Regions from separate parts of the Homo sapiens genome. Here all the other regions are linked to region 1. Evidence: promoter capture Hi-C in human tissues and cell types (Jung and others, 2019). All regions are on one chromosome and are shown on one strand. Each heading gives the region's core, a stretch centred on a gene start or on the middle of the fragment in contact. The rest is flanking DNA. Distances are from core to core; before and after follow the strand shown. Region 1 holds the start of SKOR2 (SKI family transcriptional corepressor 2). Region 2 overlaps MIR4527HG (MIR4527 host gene). Region 3 overlaps MIR4527HG (MIR4527 host gene). Region 4 overlaps KATNAL2 (katanin catalytic subunit A1 like 2). Region 5 overlaps KATNAL2 (katanin catalytic subunit A1 like 2). Region 6 overlaps MIR4527HG (MIR4527 host gene).

Evidence for each region. The method cuts DNA at HindIII sites, captures the fragments that hold promoters and counts their contacts. A contact is called where the count stands out against the background at its distance.
Region 2: a contact is called between a fragment that was not itself captured here and the fragment with the promoter of SKOR2 in region 1, in 5 of the 25 tissues and cell types used here (heart left ventricle, lymphoblastoid cells, mesendoderm cells and 2 more).
Region 3: a fragment that was not itself captured here is called in contact with the fragment with the promoter of SKOR2 in region 1 in 2 of the 25 tissues and cell types used here (bladder and heart right ventricle).
Region 4: a contact is called between a fragment that was not itself captured here and the fragment with the promoter of SKOR2 in region 1, in 2 of the 25 tissues and cell types used here (pancreas and spleen).
Region 5: a contact is called between a fragment that was not itself captured here and the fragment with the promoter of SKOR2 in region 1, in 2 of the 25 tissues and cell types used here (liver and mesendoderm cells).
Region 6: a contact is called between a fragment that was not itself captured here and the fragment with the promoter of SKOR2 in region 1, in 2 of the 25 tissues and cell types used here (spleen and thymus).

Annotation. Positions count from the first base shown.
Region 1 is chr18:47,249,996-47,253,116 of GRCh38, reverse strand. SKOR2 (SKI family transcriptional corepressor 2) reads left to right here and starts at 1,457. Exons shown (of 9, transcript NM_001278063.4): 1 at 1,457-1,743. RefSeq lists an enhancer at 1,073-1,589. The HindIII fragment of the contact is 10,120 bases long and covers 1-3,121 here.
Region 2 is chr18:47,488,473-47,491,593 of GRCh38, reverse strand. All of the region lies in intron 1 of MIR4527HG (MIR4527 host gene), which reads right to left. Among named protein-coding and RNA genes, the nearest start is that of MIR4527, 110 kb to the right of the region's middle. The HindIII fragment of the contact is 4,740 bases long and covers 1-3,121 here.
Region 3 is chr18:47,458,702-47,461,822 of GRCh38, reverse strand. The region is part of intron 1 of MIR4527HG (MIR4527 host gene); the gene reads right to left. Among named protein-coding and RNA genes, the nearest start is that of MIR4527, 80 kb to the right of the region's middle. The HindIII fragment of the contact is 4,473 bases long and covers 1-3,121 here.
Region 4 is chr18:47,062,397-47,065,517 of GRCh38, reverse strand. It overlaps KATNAL2 (katanin catalytic subunit A1 like 2), which reads right to left. Exons shown (of 18, transcript NM_001387690.1): 9 at 2,448-2,546; 10 at 2,157-2,234. Among named protein-coding and RNA genes, the nearest start is that of ELOA2, 28 kb to the right of the region's middle. The HindIII fragment of the contact is 5,865 bases long and covers 1-3,121 here.
Region 5 is chr18:47,098,387-47,101,507 of GRCh38, reverse strand. KATNAL2 (katanin catalytic subunit A1 like 2) reads right to left here. Exons shown (of 18, transcript NM_001387690.1): 16 at 2,103-2,265; 17 at 1,152-1,254; 18 at 1-642. The coding sequence ends at 503. Among named protein-coding and RNA genes, the nearest start is that of HDHD2, 51 kb to the left of the region's middle. RefSeq lists silencers at 1,012-1,121, 957-1,169. The HindIII fragment of the contact is 3,099 bases long and covers 1-3,021 here.
Region 6 is chr18:47,396,282-47,399,402 of GRCh38, reverse strand. The region is part of intron 1 of MIR4527HG (MIR4527 host gene); the gene reads right to left. Among named protein-coding and RNA genes, the nearest start is that of MIR4527, 17 kb to the right of the region's middle. The HindIII fragment of the contact is 8,960 bases long and covers 1-3,121 here.

The sequences.
Region 1 (3,121 bases), core at 208-2,707:
CCTTGAATGTCTTTAGAAACTAGAAGATGGGTGAAAAATTCTTTCATTGCCCGTTGAAACTTATGCCCAAACGTTTCGATTTTCATGTCTCTGTAACTGTGTTTTCAGGATATTAATTTAAAATAGACACAACTCCTGAGCAACAAGCCCCTCACGTTTCTGTTCAATTGACTTTCCTTGGGTTTATTAACCTTTGATGAAGGTTAAGATTTCACATTTTTGCTCTTGTATTTAGGAGTGGTATGTTGTTGGTGCTATGACACAATCTGGGTGGGCTTTCAGCTTGGTAGATGTTTTTCCATCATTTCCACAATGCTAGGACTGTTTCACTAGGCAGCAATTGAAAATTCAGCTATGGTAGTAAAGGAAAAACTTAAAGGATTTCCCAGCCCCACCCCAGCCGGCATCCTTCTTAGAACATACTCCAAATAAGTGGTTTCTTTCCTTTCCGATAAACTAGCCAGTGGTCGTTTTGACTCTTAACAGCTGGTCAATTGGGACGCACTATATTGACACTTCATTAATACACTAGGGTGCGCCTCATTTAGGGAAACTGTGAGGAAATGTTTTCTCATCCTAGTCTTTATTTTAGGGGAGGAGATCATGCTTCTACATGTTTTCCTGATTAAATTTATTTATTTCTCCAGGAAAATTGGCAACTTGCTGAAGGACTCTTCCATGTGGGGGACCTCCCTGCTTCCCTGCCCCACCCTTTCCTTGTGTAGAGGTAGCCTTACGGATCTTGTAAAATGGGTTAGAGGACGATTCTGAATGAAGTTTGATAAATCGATGTGCATATGCACATATTGGGGTCCTCACCTAATTGTACACTCCATAAAATAGAGAAGGCTGCAGTGACTCTGCATCTTGTCCTATAAAGCAAATGTATATGCAAAAGTCGGGGCACTCCAAGTTTTCTGATTGGGCACCCTATGTGGAAACTTCTCTCCTTTTTCTCATTTCATAGCGTTTCAAAGGAGTCACTGAAGCTAATTTATTCTCCAGCTGACTGTGGATTCTGTCTTCAGACACAGAGCAGCTTTGCATCCTGTACCAGAGGGATCATTCATGAAGGAGGGTGACTCAGAAATGAGGGGAGGAGACAATAACGGTCAGGGATATAGTTAATTTGGAGGCGTCCTTCTAGAATCCGGGGCCTCCAGGATCTAGGTCCCGGGATGCAGGCAGACTGTTCGCTTTCCACTCCTAAATCAGATCTGCGGCTCCAGCACCATTGCTGCAGTTTACTCCGGGGCTGAGGAGGTTGTTGTCAATTGCGAGTTGGTTAGGTTGGTAGCTTTCGTGCCTGCTGAGAAAGGATCTCTCTGTTGCTCGCGCTGGCTTTCGCTCTCCCCCTCCCTCCCTGTAACATGCCAGCCCTTTAATGTGGAGTGTCAGGGAGACGGTGACGTCACCCTGCCCGCTGGGTGGCGTCCCCTCGGTCCGACACGAGTTCAGAGACAGACGCTGTCAGACTGCGCTCCACTTGGGGCTCTCCTGCCGCGGGTTTCTGCGTACCCACACTTTCTGCGGTGGAGGGGACGCCCCGCCGCAATTCAGGCCGTCATTCTCCCCAGGCCGGGGTTTGAGCGCCATTCGCTCGGGCCAGAGCCCGGATCTTCGCGCGGAGCCCGCCAGAGTCCCGCCCGCTGGATACGAGGACCCGCTTGGATGCTTCGCCTCCGAGCGCCCTCGGAAGATGGGCCGGCAGCCACACGCCTAAAGACACCCAGAGGTTACCAGGTATTGCCGGAACCGGCCGCCCCAATCCGGCACACAGCTTGCTGGGCACCTATTTGAGATCCCCAGCGGTAGGATTTTCCGCGTTAGGTTGAGGGGCAGCGGTGGGCTTCCGTGGTGACTGGTTTGGGAGTCGGGAGAACTAAGTTGGGGGTGGGGGGGTCTTTGGCTGTTGGGCAGGATAGGGAAGTTCACCAGGTTCCTTTCTCAGTTCAACTAACTTTTAATTGTCTCTTCTCCCCTCCCCACCCACCCAAAAAATAATGCCCCAACCAAAACCTTGTGTCTGCTCTGACGGCAGTTTCTGGGAGGGCTTGGGGTAAAAGTGAGGAGACACTTCTGCCTGGTCTACTGCTGCTAAGGCTGCGAGTCCTTAACGCAGAGCCAGCTTCCCGCCCCGGCTGGCCAGCCGCGCGCCTTGCTGGGGAGCGAGAGTTGGAATTATCCCAGGGTCTTATTAAGCGGATATGAATCTTGTTTGGTAGGGAAATGAGCATCGAAGGGCCACCTGACGAAGCTAGTGTTGGTTGTATCAGACTCGGGTGTCACTGCGCCTTGAACTGCCATGTAACGCCCTGTCCCCTGGAAATATTGTCTCTGATCCACCCAAAGTGACAAGCAGGCTTTCCTCTCCTTTGATCGCGTCGAGGTTTGTTCAAGCTTCCTGGAGGCCGCCAAATGTAATGAGAACTGAGGATCCAGGGGGCAGCAGGACAGAGGCTGCTGTATAGATGCCACAGGGGCCCAGAGAGAGGACACGGATAAGAAATTGGGTGAGGGAGTAAGATCGTGTACCCTCTGAAAGCACTGTAATAGCGAACTCGCTGTACGTGGCCGAAAGGGGCCACGCTATGGCCTCTGGTGATTTTTCAGGGCAAAGCATGCCTTGGCCAATGCGCTTGAGATGTAGCTGTGGAAAGATCAGTGTTTGTTTTCCTAGGGAGTGAGCCACTTTCCTTCTTTCCACTTAGTGGCATTGTCACTAAAATTTCTTTCCGCTTCCTTGTTCTGTATTTTCAACTTACTGAATATTTTCCCTCATTGTGGCATTCTGTTGACTGGAGGTGAAGTTAGAAATTTTACCACAGACCCAACCTGGGATTTCGACTTTCAACACTCCCATAGATTACCTAGTCCACCGATTGGCTGTATGGTGGGGCAGCTTTTCCCCATAAAGATATAGAGATATCAAAATAAATTAGGGGAAAAGAGTCACAGAAGGTGGTTCACATCAAGCTAAAAAATTTGCCTTTTGAAGTCTGCCAATGAAGATCCCCAAGAATTGTTCATTCCTGTGTACTGTTTCTGGGTTTAACACCCTTGCCTCTACTTACTTTCTTATCGTCATGGAAATGACAGTAAAACAGTTTTTAAATGACTA
Region 2 (3,121 bases), core at 364-2,863, 240 kb before region 1:
TTACTATCATTACACTGTATATTTTGATATATAGCACCATTAGTCCACACAATCACCTCTGAAGCTTCACTATACAAATGAGAAAGTGGAGGCTCAGAAAGGCGACATGCCTTGCCCACAGCTAGTTGCAGAGACTTAAAGTCCAAGTCTTCTCTCCCAGTCTAGTACTTTTCCAACTGGACCACACTGCCTTTAAACATCTGGCTCAAAACTTATAATGGCTTGTTTTTCCTTTTTAAAACAGGATGTATGAATAGGACCAAGACCTCGTGGGCCCTGTGCCTCCTGCACCAAGTCTAAACTCCCCTCCCCTTCGTAGCTGTACACTCTTCACTATTATCTCCTCCAGCTCAAGATTGGCTGAAAAAGCCCCAGAGCTGCTTGTGCCTCTTACCTCCTTTATGCCATACCCGTTTCCTGGAATGCCTTTCCCAGGCCTCAATCTAGTCAGTGTCACTCATGTGTTAAAGTTGGCAGGAGCTCAGCTGAGCTGGGAGAGGGTGCTGAGCTGTCAGGTGTCAGAGAGGCTGATTAAAATGACAAGCCAAAAATGAAAGGGTTAAGCCTTGAATCACTTCCTGCAGTGGTAAAAGCAAGAGTCTAAAACTGGAGGAAATACCAGCTCTCTCTGTTCTGTTTTCCCTCGGAACGGCACAGACGTGGGGCTGATCTCACTGTTGAGGAGCCTCAGACCAAAAGCTCTGTTAGTTTTAGGGACGCTGGGGGTGGAGGATGTCAAGGGGGAAGGCTAGGAGTGGAAAATCCTGGGTAGTGGGGAAGTGTCTTCAAGGTTTCCTTCCCTTCCCTCCATAAGAAGTCTTAGCAGAGGTCTCTAAAGAAAACCTCAGCCCAAGGCCTCAAAAACCTAGGAAAGAAGGTGTCCATGCTAGGGATACAAATATGCCAAGAGCACAACCAACCAGGGGCCTGAGATCTTAAATGCAACTTCATCTTGAGTCTGCAATGCCCTGTCCATGCACTAAGTCCAGTGTGGAGGTCAGTGTTCTGGTCCCAGCCAGTGCTTCAAAGCAGGAACACATGAAAAACCAAGGATTGGGAACAGAGGTTAGAGACCTCCTTTTTACCTAGAGCCAGAAGTAAGACACAAACTGGTCAGCCAAGGGGTCAGTCAACACCAGGAGTTAATGCCAAGGATCCAGAAACCAAGAAGCCAAATGGTCAGCATCCCACACGCACTGTAGGACAAGAACCAAGGCTGAGCCTACTCCGAGGATGAACATCATTTGGATGAGGGGTGGGTGTCTGCATGAGGACTACTCTGGGTCTATTGAGGAATTTAGAGATTTGCACTGGTGGAGTAATGAGAAGACTGTGACTGCCGGCATGCCCTTATTCAGGTTCAGAGGAGGGTTCGGGGTGGGGGTTTTGGAGATGCTGGAATGAGCTTCTCTAACAGCAGTAAAGTCAAAGGAAAGCCAACCTCCATAGTGACCTAGCACATCCATTATAGACTAAATGGCCAAATGTGAGAAACAAACTTAACCAAAACCAGCCAATTGCCACCTCTCATTGTGCTCTGCCCCTCTAGTGCCAATATCTTCCCAGCAAACAGAGGCCATTGGATACCGTCAACTTTGCTGGGTGCTATTTGTGTGTCAGCTTCCGGTCCTTGCACACCAGGTTCTTGTATCTTTCCTCCCAAGTGGAGCTCCACCCACCGGCTCTGGATGGCGGCTCAGCTGGAAAACAGCTGCCCAGCCCTGGTTCCATTGAAGGTAGGAGAGCCCAACAGCCTGCCTGTGGTGACCCCACACGTTGCTGGTCTGGGCTGAGTACCACAGTGAAAGAGATCTAAGCCTCCCCTCTTCTGTGACCTCACCCTCCCCCCTTTTCTCCATCCCCCCCAAAAAGAGGGGAAAATCAATTTCAATCAACGTGGAATGTAATATTATCAAATGTCAGCTGCTGAGGTCATGTGCTTTGAAAATTATCTTTGACAGCTTCTGGTCGACTTAATTAAGTGCTCCCCAAAAAGGGGGGAGGGAGGCAAAAATACCCTGATTGCTAGCTGCTATGCCTTTGTGCTTTAGAGCTTCTATTGACAACTCTAAGCAAGATTGCCTTGGGGGTTTTATTGATAGATTCTCGCGTGATATTGGAATGATTCTTGCACAGATAAATCACATTTAGATTTGTTGGTAATTGAGGAGAATTGATTGGAGCAGGAGGGGAGCCCCCAAGGGGTGGTCTCCTTGTCCTCATTGTAGGAAGCTTGAGGGGAAAGAGGGGAGGGGTGTCCTCAAAGAGCTGAGAGCCTGCAGGGGGATCCAGGCTCTATTGTTTACCTGTCAATTCTACTTTCCTCTGAACCCCGATCCACCTCATCACCTCCCAAAGGAGAGGCATGGAGAGAAAGATGGAGGCAGAGGCTAGGGAAAAGTTTGTTCCAGATACATTTTGGAGGCGCTGTTTCAGGAGTGTCCTGGGCCATGTGACCATACCTCAGGCTTGATCTTTCTTAGTTCCAAATCTGACTGTGCCTCCTTGTTTAAAACACTTCAAAGACTTCCTGATCAAGATACAGTTCAAACTCCACCATGTGGCCTGTGTTTGCTGCCTGTGTCTCCAACTGTCTCCCCTGCTACTTCTGTAAACTCTAAACTTCTGACATCTCTCTCACTTCCTTTGGGTCACCTTCCTGGGGGTCAAGATGGTAGGAGCTCTTTCTCTGTTAGGACTTTCCCATAAACTTTCCCACATGGGAGCCAAGAGAGCACCAACCAGATAGAATGGTGGCCAAACTTGTCCAAGCAATAGAACCCTTTGCCAAAGCAAATCTCCTTTGGCAGCCCAATGCACAAAATGCAGAAAAGTAAGGCTGTTCTGGTTGAAACAACTTGGGCAACCACCTCCCTGTCACCTGGGCCTTTCTCCTTCCCTCACCTCCTGCCTATGGTGGGGCTCCGGGATTGTCAGTGAACACAGTTTGAAAACCACTGATGCCCTTGCACTCCATGAGTGGGAAAGTGATTTGTCCAACACCTCACAGCCAAGAGCAAGGTTAGCATCAGAACCAGTAGCCAGGACTTCTGGCTCCAGGCTTGTCCTTTATCACCACACATTTTTGCCTCTCTCTTGGAGTTGTGGGTGGTAGGACCAA
Region 3 (3,121 bases), core at 260-2,759, 210 kb before region 1:
TCCCCTGATTTATGCCATGTCATGGTGCTTCCAGCATCTGAGTCTGTGTGTGCTGTCTGTATTGAGTTGAATAGTAATCCCCCATCCCTGCCCCCTGCCAAGATTCTTGTTCACTTGGAACCTCAGAACGTGACCTCATTTGAAAATAAGGTCTTTGCAGATGTAATCAAATGACGATGAGGTCATATTGGATTAGGGTGGGTCCTAAATCTAATGACTGGTGTCCTCATAAGGAGAGGGAGATTTGAGGACACGCAGACACAGAGAGAGATGACAGCCATGTGAAGATGAAGTGAGAGACTGGAGTCATGTGGCCGATGATTGCCTGAGGCCACCAGAAGATAGGAAGGGACATGGGAAGAGTCTCCCTGGAGCCTTCAGCAAGAGCACGGCCCTGCTGATACCTTAATTTGGGACTTCTGGTCTTCAGAACTGTGAGAGAATATATTTCTGTTGCTTCAAGCCACTCAGTGTGGCAACCATAGGACATTAACACAGTCTTCCCACTTCCTTAGTCTTGAGGCAGATAGCCCTTAACTGCTGATCCCAACATCAGTGTCTCCATGAGATCAGATCCCATGTGACTCACAGTGATTGATCCTAGATTGATCAGGGCAGGCCCTGAACTTTTGATACCAGTCCATGAAGAAATAAGTCCAGAAATTGAGATTAGGCATTTACAAACTCACAGCAGTTTGATGGGGTAATTTTATGTCTGTGGATTCTAATAATTTGAAAAATTGGGGCTTGTAGTTTGTACATTTTTTTAATTTCATGTTTCTAATGATTCATTTTTGTTGATTCTCCAAAAGTATCAGTATATGACAAATTGAAAAATTTTTTAAATAAAACTACTCCTTCAGCACCAAGAGCTTGAGAAACTTCACAGGAGTTAACTGGCCTTTTCTGAAATAGGCCCCCCATCTCCTTAGACGGCAGGTGCCATCATAAACAGCATTTTAGGTTTTTCCTTTTATTACAACAAGCTCACCTTTTTTCTAGGATTGATCCTACTCACTCTACGGCAACTGCTGCCACCTCCAATTTTTGCCAAGGAGTCCTGGGGATGTCTCCCAGTTACCACGAGATTTGGTCTTTAGTCTTCTCTTCTGCCCAGCTCAGGCCTCGGGGTACAGCGTCAGGCGCAGTTGCTCAGACTCTCCCTGCAGGTTTTCCCCATGCTCACTTCTACTGACCCTGAGCAGAGGCTGCTGCCTGGTGTTCTCTGTGCCTTACACAAATGCTTGTTGTCAGCTCCTATCAATTTTGCTTGTTCGTTCCTTCCCTGCAGCCTCTAGCCTCTCTAGGAACCAGGCCTGGGTCTTGAGGACCAGGAGGGGGTCAGTCTGAAAACCAGTCATTGTACAGAATCACACTCCTTTGACAGACCTGGACCTACAATACATGCTCTACCTCAGAAGGGCTTCATCCCCAGGAGTTCCTCAGTGCCCATGCAGGTAGACTAAGGACAGCCCCTGTCTTCCATGCATGCATCAACAGACCTGAACTCACATTGCATACCAGCTTAGGCCAGCCCAAGCCCCACTGCACTCAGAGACAAAAAGCTACAATTTCGTCAACTCTCCTAATGGCTAATGAACATATAGCATGTTCCATGTGCCAGCTGATGTTCTAAGTGCATGTACCCTTTTGACTCCTTTAATGCTTACAACATCCCTGTGAGGTGGATGCTACTATTACTCCCACCTTACAGACGAGAAAACTGATGTCCAAAGTGCTTGAGTAACTTGCCCAAGGTTACTAGAAAGCAAGTGACAAAACTGTAATTCAAATCTGGGCCCTCTGCCTCCAGCGCCCACCTATGTGACCACCCAAGTCATCCTGTAGTTCTGTCTCTCCAGGGGCAGAAACTGTCCAAATCCTGCCAATGCAGAGCAGGCACTCATTTCGGGTAGAATGTTTCTTCCACAGCTTTGTAGAATTCACATCTGTCACAGTTAAGAAGCCATAGCTGCTCTTTGTCTTGCGGGGAGACTTTCAATCCCTCGCAAAAATCCAGATTCTACAAGGGCTTCAGGAGGCGTTTCTTGGCTCTCTCCCCATTTGCCCCACCCAGTTTACTTCCCCCTTCTCTGGCCTTGTTGACCAACCTCCTGTCTTCACAGGTCAGCCCAGGAGCAGCTCCCATGCCAGGCAGGTGACTTCAGAGGGTTGGGACTGTCAAGGAGAAGAATGGCTAACTGCCTCTGGCTGATGCCTTAAATGTCCTCTTTAGGCTGCTTGTTCATCTACTTGAGATAGGAGACCATGATAATAAAAATCATGCATCTTCACTGGAAAAAATGTCAAACTATACAAAGACATAGAAAGGAAATAACTAAAGCTCCTTCCCATTCCTTCTTCCTTCCCGGTTCTAGGCCCCAAAAGTAAGTTGTTTGATTATACAAGTTGATCTCTGTTGAGGTACAAATACCCCTGAAAAAAGAAGCCCTGTTGCATTGCCCTGGGTCATTTACCCTCATGTGAATGAAATAAATCATGTGACCCCTGCAAACACACACATGCACACATGCATGCACATACATGCACGCACACATTTCCTGAGATGAGGTTTTGAAGGGAGTGGGGAAGATAATCATGGGCCTGGTTGGAGATAATGGGGTCTCAGATGGAGGAGATGGTAAAGCAGGGAGGCAGGAGCACTGTAGATGAAATATGCAAACTTTACACTTTGGCTCAGGTCCGGGCCCAGGAAGGAAAAGGGGAGGGAAGGAAGCTTGCTAGAAGTCCAGGTATGGTCAGAACTGGAAGGAAACTCAGAGGGTGCCCAGGGGGCTAGAATCTGGCTGATAAATACATACGGAACAGCTGGAAGTCCCAACAAATAGCCCTTTCCATGTGTCCTCTCTCCTGGAGTAACCACAGTGGTAACAATATACACTGAAAATCAATCTCTCTCTCTCTCCTTCCCTCTCCCTCTCTTTACCTCTCTAATCCATCCCTCTTTCCTCTCTCCCTCTTTCTTTTCCCTCTGTCATTTCTCTCTTCCTCTTCCTCTCTTCCCTCTCATCTCATTCTTCTCCCCCTCTCTTTCCTCTCTCCCTTTTCCTGTCTTCCCTCTTCATTTCTCATTTTTCTCTCCCTCTCCTCCTTTCCTCTC
Region 4 (3,121 bases), core at 376-2,875, 190 kb after region 1:
GGGTCTCTAGAAATGGTCTCTGGGCATATGGAAGAGATTGGTTCCAGAACCTCTCCCTGTTCCCCCCCCGACACTCTCCCCCATACCAAAATCTGTGCATACTCAAGTCCCACAGTCGATCTTGGGAAACCCACATATACCAGCTAATGCTCTCTAGAAATGGGGTCTCATTATGTTGCCCAGGCTGGTCTCCAACTCCTGGCTAATGTTTTGTATTTTCAGTAGAGATAGGTTTTTGCCATGTTGGCCAGGCTGGTCTCAAACCCCTGGCCTCAAGTGATCTACCCATCTCAGTCTCCCAAAGTGCTAGGATTGTAGGTGTGAGCCACTGCATCTGGTCTAGAGAAAGTATTTATAAAAGTACTTTGGTCATGCATGATATTTACAATCCATTCTTGGATTGAAGGGTAGAGAAAGGACTCAGTCTTCCTTATTCTGTCTATAGAGCCTGGATCTACATGCAGGCCCACCAGCCACTCACATTCTTATTACCGTCCTTTCTTAGTGAAATCTCGGCACACAAGGAAGATTCATTTACCTAGGTATTAAAAGCATCCATAGATAACAGCAGTATTTCTTGACCTCTTCTAGAGTTGAGTTCCACAAGGTAATGTTTAATTTCCCAACTGACAGTTTCTCCTTGTATCAATCCAAAGTTAACAGTCAGAACTCAACAGGACTACCTCATGAGGTGGTGAGCTCTCCGTCACTGTAAGCATTCAAGCAGGAGCAGGGTTTCTACCTCCTATGCTACTATAGAAAGGATTCCAGATGGAATCATCTCAGGCCATTTCCACTCTATAGTTCTATCCTCATAGTCATGTTACCCTTTTGCAAAAATGGTAATGAGACTATTAATTTGGGGTTACTGCAGCCTGGCTCAGTCCCTCATCCCCTCTCACTGGTAAAAACCTTATAGATGGTCTCCCCATCTCCTTTTCTTTGCTATTCATTCATCTCACTGTCATAGAACAAGCCATCCACAAGCACATGGGATGATCCCATCCTCCGACGGGCGCCTTTCTAAGGTCCCCTCTTCTATAGGTGTGTTCTCAGCCCTGGGTACTGCTCACAGCACCCTTCCTCAGGAACCCTGCCTCTCTCCACCCGTTCCCCACCACTCCCTGCTTCTTAGGTGGCCCACAGGACATGTGCACAAACTGCAATTTCTCATGGAAGTGCCTATGCCCAGAACAGCTCCTAGCCTCCCTCTTCCACTTTTTCCCTTAGCGATTTCCTGTCTTCTTTCCTAACACTTTCCCCACCCCTCCCTCCTTCATGCTCTTAAAGTGCACTTTGTCCCTGGGATGAGAAACTCTTGAGGGCAAGGACTATGCTCTGACTCGTTCACATTTGTGTCTCCAGCCCACAGCACACACCTGACACACAAGAGGCATACAGGAAACAACTGCTGAGCTGAACAGAGACAGCTCAGGAGCCCTTAGCTTCTCAGAGGAGCTGTGAATTTTGGGGATCATTTTAAACCCCCCTCTGAGCCTGCCTAGGTTTCAGTCTTCAATTAAATATGAAGCAATAGAAATTAGAAAAATACCCTATAACTCAGGAATCTATTTTATTTCCCAGGAACTTGCCCAAAGTCACACAGCTAGCAAGAGAAGGATCTAGAAATCAAAGGCAGGTCAGCTAATTCCAAAGCCTGTTCTTCACTGCCTTCTGGTTCCACAGTGCAAGCTGGAAAAGTCCGTAGTCTGGATGGTAGTCTTTCCTGCTAATTGTGTTTTTCATGGAGATTTTCAATGATGATATCATCAGACTCCCGACGTCTCTATTTCTAGGCTCTGACTTTTTAAACCAGATGCAGACATACTCTTTTCTTCTTTAAGAGGCTTTCTTTCCTTGACTCTTGGCTCTGCTATAAAACCTTTCACCTGTCCCTTCATTCCTAAGTCTTTTTCTCTCTTGGTTTTCTTGGCCTCTATCATGAGATGGTGGGGTTTGTATATTGTAATTTTATGACTCTATAATTTATTTATCATGCATTATTGTGCCTCTAAACAATATGAGTGCCTGCGCAAGTGGGGGCACTTTATAAATAAATGATCATATTTATTGTTATTAATAAAAGAAGCAGCCCACAAAGCTCCAGAAGCCCCAGCCTGCCTCCATAAATTTGTGAATTGAATATCAGATCTTACCCGGCTCACCACGGCTGCCAATTCTCGCATCTCACTGTTCATGCCAATAAATGCACTCAGAGGTTTCAGCAGTCGTTCCTGATGAGAGGAGCGGAAAGGCTCACATTACAATATTGCTTCATAATTTAGGAAGAAACCCCGGGCATGCACAGGTCTTGGTGAAACAAACGATGGCAGGTGGCTATGGCCTTTAACTTGATCTCAAGGTTTCACTGTACTCAAAATTATATTTCCAGAGTTCATCTGGATGTTGGCAATTTGAAAGATGAATGTCACATCTTCGCCACTTACTGAGGGGTCTGGATTATGGTCGAAGGTGTTCAAGGCAAGTTCACTGGTTGCTCCCTTGATGGCATCTGTGAGCAGCCCTTGGAAGTCAATGATTTGGCCCTGAAAGGGAGGAATGGTTATTTATGCCATGAGAACATAAGAGAAGACTCTTCTTAATAACTCAGTTTCATTAAACCAAGACACATTTATAGACCCTGGTATATAGGGCAAACTTCAAGTTAAGCTTTAAAAAGAACCAGCACTAGTATTAAACGTGATGATTTCCTCAAGTTGGAGCACCTTAAAAAATTGTAAGTACATTTTCCAGAATGAAGTGGATTTGAATAAAAATTCATGAGTATTTCTCAGTTCCTGACACAGACCATCTGCTTCCTCCCTTATATGTTGACTTCCCCTGTATGGTCTTATCCTCTTAAAATATTACACATGCAGAAAGAACTCATTGGCACAATGGTAATGAGAGTTCCTGTCTATGGATTGTGATACACGTTCACCACTCAATAGAGTGCTGGGTACAAAATAAGTGTGAAAGGTTCTTTGTGAGAACTATTTCTTTTTTGTTATTTTTGTATATAATTTGTATAAATTTATTGGGTATAAGTGTAATTAATTTAATTTCCACCAACAATGTATGAGTTCCCTTTTCTCCATATCCTGTGAGGATTATTTCTAAT
Region 5 (3,121 bases), core at 223-2,722, 150 kb after region 1:
TGAGATTCAGAATATTGTCCGGAATGAGAAACAGACTGCATTGCCTTCCCTGCTTCCGTCCTCCTTCACCCTGGGACTGTCAGCTGGGCAGTGCCTGTCAAGCTTAGCTTCTACTTGGCTGCCCCAACTCAGGGTCATCCTGTGTGTGGCCAACACAACTTTTCTAAGTACATCTTTTTCTTAAAAAGTTTACAAATGAGTAACATTACAGAAAATTGTTCATTAAAATTTTATGGAGTCTAATTGTCAGAAAAATCTCCATTGTATGACCCAATAGCACATATATGTATGTAACTGAAACTCTCAATATTTTGCTGACATCGATAATGGTAAGTTAATAAATATATCTCAGCTATCCAAAACAATACAGTGGCTCAAGTTAATCCAGTCTTCAAAAATAATTTTCTCTTTTCCATTCCAATCATTTTGTTCTCCCACGGACATTAATAAACTAGGAGGTCTTTGTGGTTGCCTTTGTGGCCAGGTCAGGGTAAATGTGGTTTCAGACAGACTCGAACTCTCTTTGCCAGTCTGAGTATCTCTGAGCCAGATTCTTTGCGGAGGGCTTGGTGTGAGTTAGCACATCCAGAAAGTCGGCAGTGGTTACTATATCCAACTGGATCCTGGGTAAGTCGCTGCTTTCTAGGATAAGAACACAACAGTAACAGCACAACAATCGACCTCTTGGTGATCAATGCTCTTGAAACGCTAATAGACCTTCTTTCAAAATAATGCATAATGCAGCATTCTTAATTGTTAATGCAGCAAAAGGCAAGACTAAAGAGGGCTGGGGAAAAATTCTTTAACGTGCAACTGAGTTAGCCCCTAAGGCCCAGACAAAAAAATGTGACCTAAATGTATCGTTACCAGGTATTATTTAATATTTATATAGTGCCTCAAATGGATCCAGCCCAACATCAGAGTGTGCCAGAGAAATAAAAGCCTGAGCCCTAAGGAGTTTATCATCTGCAAGCAAAGTCGATCCAAATCAGAACACCCACGGAGGAATGAGTTGAGTGAGGGATGATTTGACCAAAAAACGCATTGCCAAGTGTAAAGCGGCACCAAGAACAGGCGCCAGGCTCCATCTGCTGGTGAGAGGGATTTTTACACAAATTCCTGGAACACCTTCATGGTGATCCAACCCATACCTGACTGGTGATTTTCAAGTGCATCAAAGATCTTCCTCACGGGCCGCATGGCTGCTTCCCTGCAGACGAGCTTAATATCTGAGCCTGAGTAGCCCTCAGTCTCCTGAAACAGCCAAAAAACCAGCCATTGGTCAGTGGGCAGAATGCTCCTGGCCATTACGTTGTTATAGGCAGGACCCAGTATCAGAAGCCCTGTGTAGATTCTGTATCTGTCACCCATGAACATCCTAAAAAGATTCCCAGATAAACAGTGCTTGAGGAAGAGACCCTGCTAGCATGTTGGGATAACCTAAGCAGCTGGGCTAGAATGGCTTTCTAACACCATCGAAATATGCTGTAAGATGCCAGTGAAGGATCAGAACACCCAAGTTAGCCTATCAGGGCCCCTGTGCTCAAATCCAAGGATGGTCAAATTTGGTAGGCACGTTTATTCTTGTAAATAAGATCATACCTGCCATTTAGGAACCTCAGAGAACATTGTGTTCAAATGTTCACCAAAAGCAGGCAACATTTCTGCAACACCCTGGGAATGGACACCAGTGATAATGGGCATAATAGACATGTACCTGGAGTTTTTCTGTTATGTAATCATCACAGTCATTCTTTGTGGCTCATCTGCTACCCATTTTACAGATGAAGAAACAGGCTCAAAGAGTAAGTGACTTCTCCGAGGTCACACAGCTAACAAGCAGCAGGGCCAGGATTTGACCATAGGTTCTCTGAGTCTAAACCCTATGCTGTTTCCACTGCCTCACATTGTTTCTCCTTCTCTGAATATTTTTAAGTGAAAAGGAGCTTATTCTTCGTGAAGATGCCCATTGCATTACGGGGGCAGCTTGGATCTTATTCTAAGTGTCTCAAGCTTCTATCAGCTCATGGTAAGACCTGGTCTACAAGATGGCCATATGGTGGGCCCTTGACCTACATGTGCCCCTCTCCAGGGCAGCTGACCTGGCTCAGCACACTGTACTCCAGCTCTGTGTGCAGCTCCAAGGCCCTGCTCTTGCTCACAGGAGGCAGCCAGTGGTAGATCATGGCCTGCCTGGCCTCCCGGCTGGGGAGATCGACCAGAATCCTCTTCTCCAGGCGGCGTAACATGGCACAGTCCAGCTCCCTGAAATCACACCAGAAATGGAGCTGGACAGGGCTGCAAACACACTTCCTGAACAACAACTGTACTTTAAGAACAATTTAGCATTGCAGGAAGCAATTCTGCATTTTAACTGTCACTCTACATCTATGCCTTGAGTGGATGGGACAATTAATATTATTTGGAGAAAGAATTGGTGAGAAAGAGAACTGAGGGAGGGAAGGAAGGGAAGAGAGGAAAGCAGAAAGGAAGGAGAAGAAAGAGAAGGAAGGAAGGATGAATGGAAGAAAAGGAAAAGAGCACATTCTCAGAACTAATGAAAAGGAAGTAATTTTATGCGACTTAATTTGGGGTACAAAAACCAACTAACAACCAGCAATCATGAGTATTCTGATTGCAGTTGTAACATGAATTATTCAGTCCGATCTTGCCAGTGAGTAAATTATTGCTGACAATAAGTTGGGCACTCTAAGTACATTAATTCTTCCAAAATTCTCAGTCCTTCTGGAGTGAATGACCCCTCACTTCATTACATTGGTGAACTTAGCACCAGTGGCCCTTCCTGGGTGCCCAGTGCAAATAACCGCCCTTTCAGACACTCACTTTTACTCCTCCCAAAACTGTCAGGCCAAGTTTATGTGATTTTGCATCCATAGGCCATTTCCTTAAACTTCTTGATATGGTTTGGCTCTGTGTCCCCACCCAAATCTCATCTTGAATTGTAATCGCATAATTCCCACGTGTTGTGGGAGGGACCCAGTAGGAGATAATTTGAATCGTGAGCAGTTTCCACCACGCATGCTGTTCTCATGGTAGTGAATAAGTCTCACAAGGTCTGATGGTTTTATCAGGGGTTTCCGCTTCTTGCGTCTTCCTCATT
Region 6 (3,121 bases), core at 269-2,768, 150 kb before region 1:
TCTTACTTTCATCTGTCTTGCCATAATCTGTGTCTGATCCAATTTCGAGCAATTTATGTGCTCCTGAGAATGGAGAATGGGTGAGCAGGGTCTTTACTGATCCTAGGCAACCAGGAATTATGGTGGGAGAGAATATTTTAACATACAATCAGCCCCTCACTAGAAGGCCCACTTTGGTTGAAACACATCAATTCAATATGTCTTTTTTTTTCTTTTAGCATGCCTGTTAAAAGAGGAACACACAAATTGCATAGGGCATGGTATCTGCCCACAGGAGGGCTTAGTGTCTACTTAGGAAAATGAGGAACACCCAGGAAATAAAAAAGAAGAGTCACAGTCAAAACAGGGTGAAAGAGACTGTCATGAGAGATCATTATTTCACTTTATCCTCTTCATTCATCAGAAGAGATCTATGTCCATCCAAATCTTTGGCCCAGTTTAATGCAATTCAATACAATAAACGCTTTATTGGGCACCTGCCATGTCCCATGCCTGCAAGGGGTGCACATCCAAGTTATACATCGTGCCTGCCCCTTATCATTGAGGAATTAGTCTGTATTCAGCACTCAACACTTACTCTGGGCCATGCACTGTGCTGTGTGCTGGGAGCTCAGCCTTGAGTGGGAGACCCTTGAGCCAATGCCTGGGAGCTCATGGTCTAGCAGGAAGCAGACAGGTGAGCAGATAAATTAGCACAGATGGAGACTGCAGTGCAAGGGGGAGTGGGGATACCTGGTGCAGGCTGTAGGGAGAGGGGTAATCAAGGCAGATTTGTCTAAGCTGTGACCCGAAGGGTGCGGGAGTGGTGAGCCAGGCCAAGGGAAGGCATTCCAGGTAGGCAGCGTGGCCCACAGATAAGCAGGTTGAACAATGTGTCCTGGTTTGCCCAGGACTTTCTTCTTTGTAGCACTCAAAGTTCCACATTCTAGGAAAGCCCTAAGTACCAGGCAATCGAGGATGATTGATCACCATCAAGAGAAAGTGTGGTATATTCTGAAAACTGAAATTGGTTCAAGTTTAAGACAAGTGTATAAGAGAGTTATCAAAGAATCTTAGATTTTTGTCTACTTGAAAGTTGATCCTAAGGAAGTGCAGACCTTGGTTGCCACCTAAGTTCAGATGCTTTAACTTTTTTAAAGCTATGCTATTTAAATTTTTTAATTAATATTCTCTCTAGCTCAAATATGCCTAAAGCTTAAACAGGGGCTTTGGGAAGCAGACGGGTAATGTAAATGAGTGGCTGCCAGCCAGGTGAGGACAGTGGCCACAGGAGGCTGCACATCCTGCCCCAAGGCGGCAGTCCCTACTCAGCACCAGCTGGCTGTCTGCTGGAGGGAATGTTGCTAGATATCCTGATATTTCAAAAGAAGCCCCAAATCGGAATTTTTATGGGCAGGCTCCTACTGTTAAAATATTTGTGACGAATTCAAGATTTTTAAAAAGGCACTGCCAAACTGAACACTACAGCTGCTAGTTTTCTCCTCTCACGTTACCATTCTTAGTACCTGGTCAATGGAACTATCGCCCCCTTATGGCAGCATAGCCAAATTGCAGGATATTCTCTGAGGGGTAACACCTCTGGAATCAGTGTACTCCAGGGCAAAAGGGTAATCGATGAACCCCTTAACATGGAAAATAGTTGCCCGGGGAGCAGGGTTGGGGCCAAGAAAAGAACGAAGGGCTGAGTTGAAAGCATCAAAAGTCAAGATTTGACTATGTCCCAGTTGGGGCAAGACTGGCCCAGGCTCCATGACAGAGAATCAAAGTCAGCCAGCAATTGATCTTGGGTTGAGGCCTTCAATATGACATCTCAGCTTGAAATTGGCTGTCTTGCTGGCTGATTTATAAAACTTCAAAGAAAAATCCTCAGAGCAGAAATCTTGGCCCACCCTTAACCAAGGCAGCCTTCATCCCATCAGCAGCAAGGCCAGGACCCAGGAGGAGCTGCCATGTTGGTCTGTGCATCTGCAGGTCTAAGTCCATTCTGATTCCAATGCAGCTGGAGGCAAAGTTAAGCTGCCCTGAGCTCTTGTCTCTGCCTTAAGGACTAAACATTTGTAATAGAGTAGAAAGCTCTGCACCTGAATTTTCTGAACCTTATGTCAACAGGTTCCCCTAACCAGCCGCCCTGGCTCCAGATCTATTCTTCATTTTCTCTACAGCTGTGGGTCTTTCTATCTGCCTCCTTTTCACTGATTGTCAAGAGACTTCAATCTCTGACTAGGTAGAGTAGGCATCCACCTCTATGTTAAGAGATCAGGACTATACCCTGCTGTCAGTTTTTCCCCATGTGTTCCCTGAAGTCTCTATTCCTTAGCAGGAGGGGATGTCTTCAATTGCACCGTGCAAAATGAAATTTAAAATGCAAACAGGAAATAGACACATGCACACACACACACATGCACGTGCACCCACACCCAGTGCACACATTGTACACATATGCACACACTAGACTAGGAGTCAGGAGTCCTAGGCTCCCTTTCCAGCCTGCCACTGACTTTCTGTATATAGTTTGGAGGTAGATTTCTCCTCTCTGCACCTCAATTTTCTTTTCTGTCAAATAAAAGGGAATGGGGGTAAATTCCATATCCTCAGTTGTCCCTCCATGATTTTCTATAAAGTCATGTTATGATGCAAGCTAACTGGTAGAAGGCCTTTCCATGAGATTGGGATTACATTAAGCAGATAAGGACATAGGGCGCAGTGGGCAGCTGAAAGGAGAGTGGGAGTCCAGTGAGGGGGAAACGGGCCTGGGCAAGGGTGGCAGACCAAGGGTGCCAGAGATCACCATCTCCAACTTCTCTTCTGCTCAAGGCTGGCACCGGCTGCTAGGCATCTGTCATATTTGTCTCCTCGTGGAATTCTATATGTGACCCTACCCTCTTAGAGTCCTCTTTCTGTGCCTCCTACTTCCCTCCCCTCATAGTGAATGAGGTCCCCTATATGCAAAGCCCTGTGTCATGTGCCAGGCATATATGGGGTCCCCTATATGCAAAGCCCTGTGTCATGTGCCAGGCATATATGGGGTCCCCTATATGCAAAGCCTGGTGTCACATGCCAGGCAAGGGATCTTTCTGCCAGTTTCTCCCCCTGCTTTGGAATGTCTCCGATCACCCCTCAT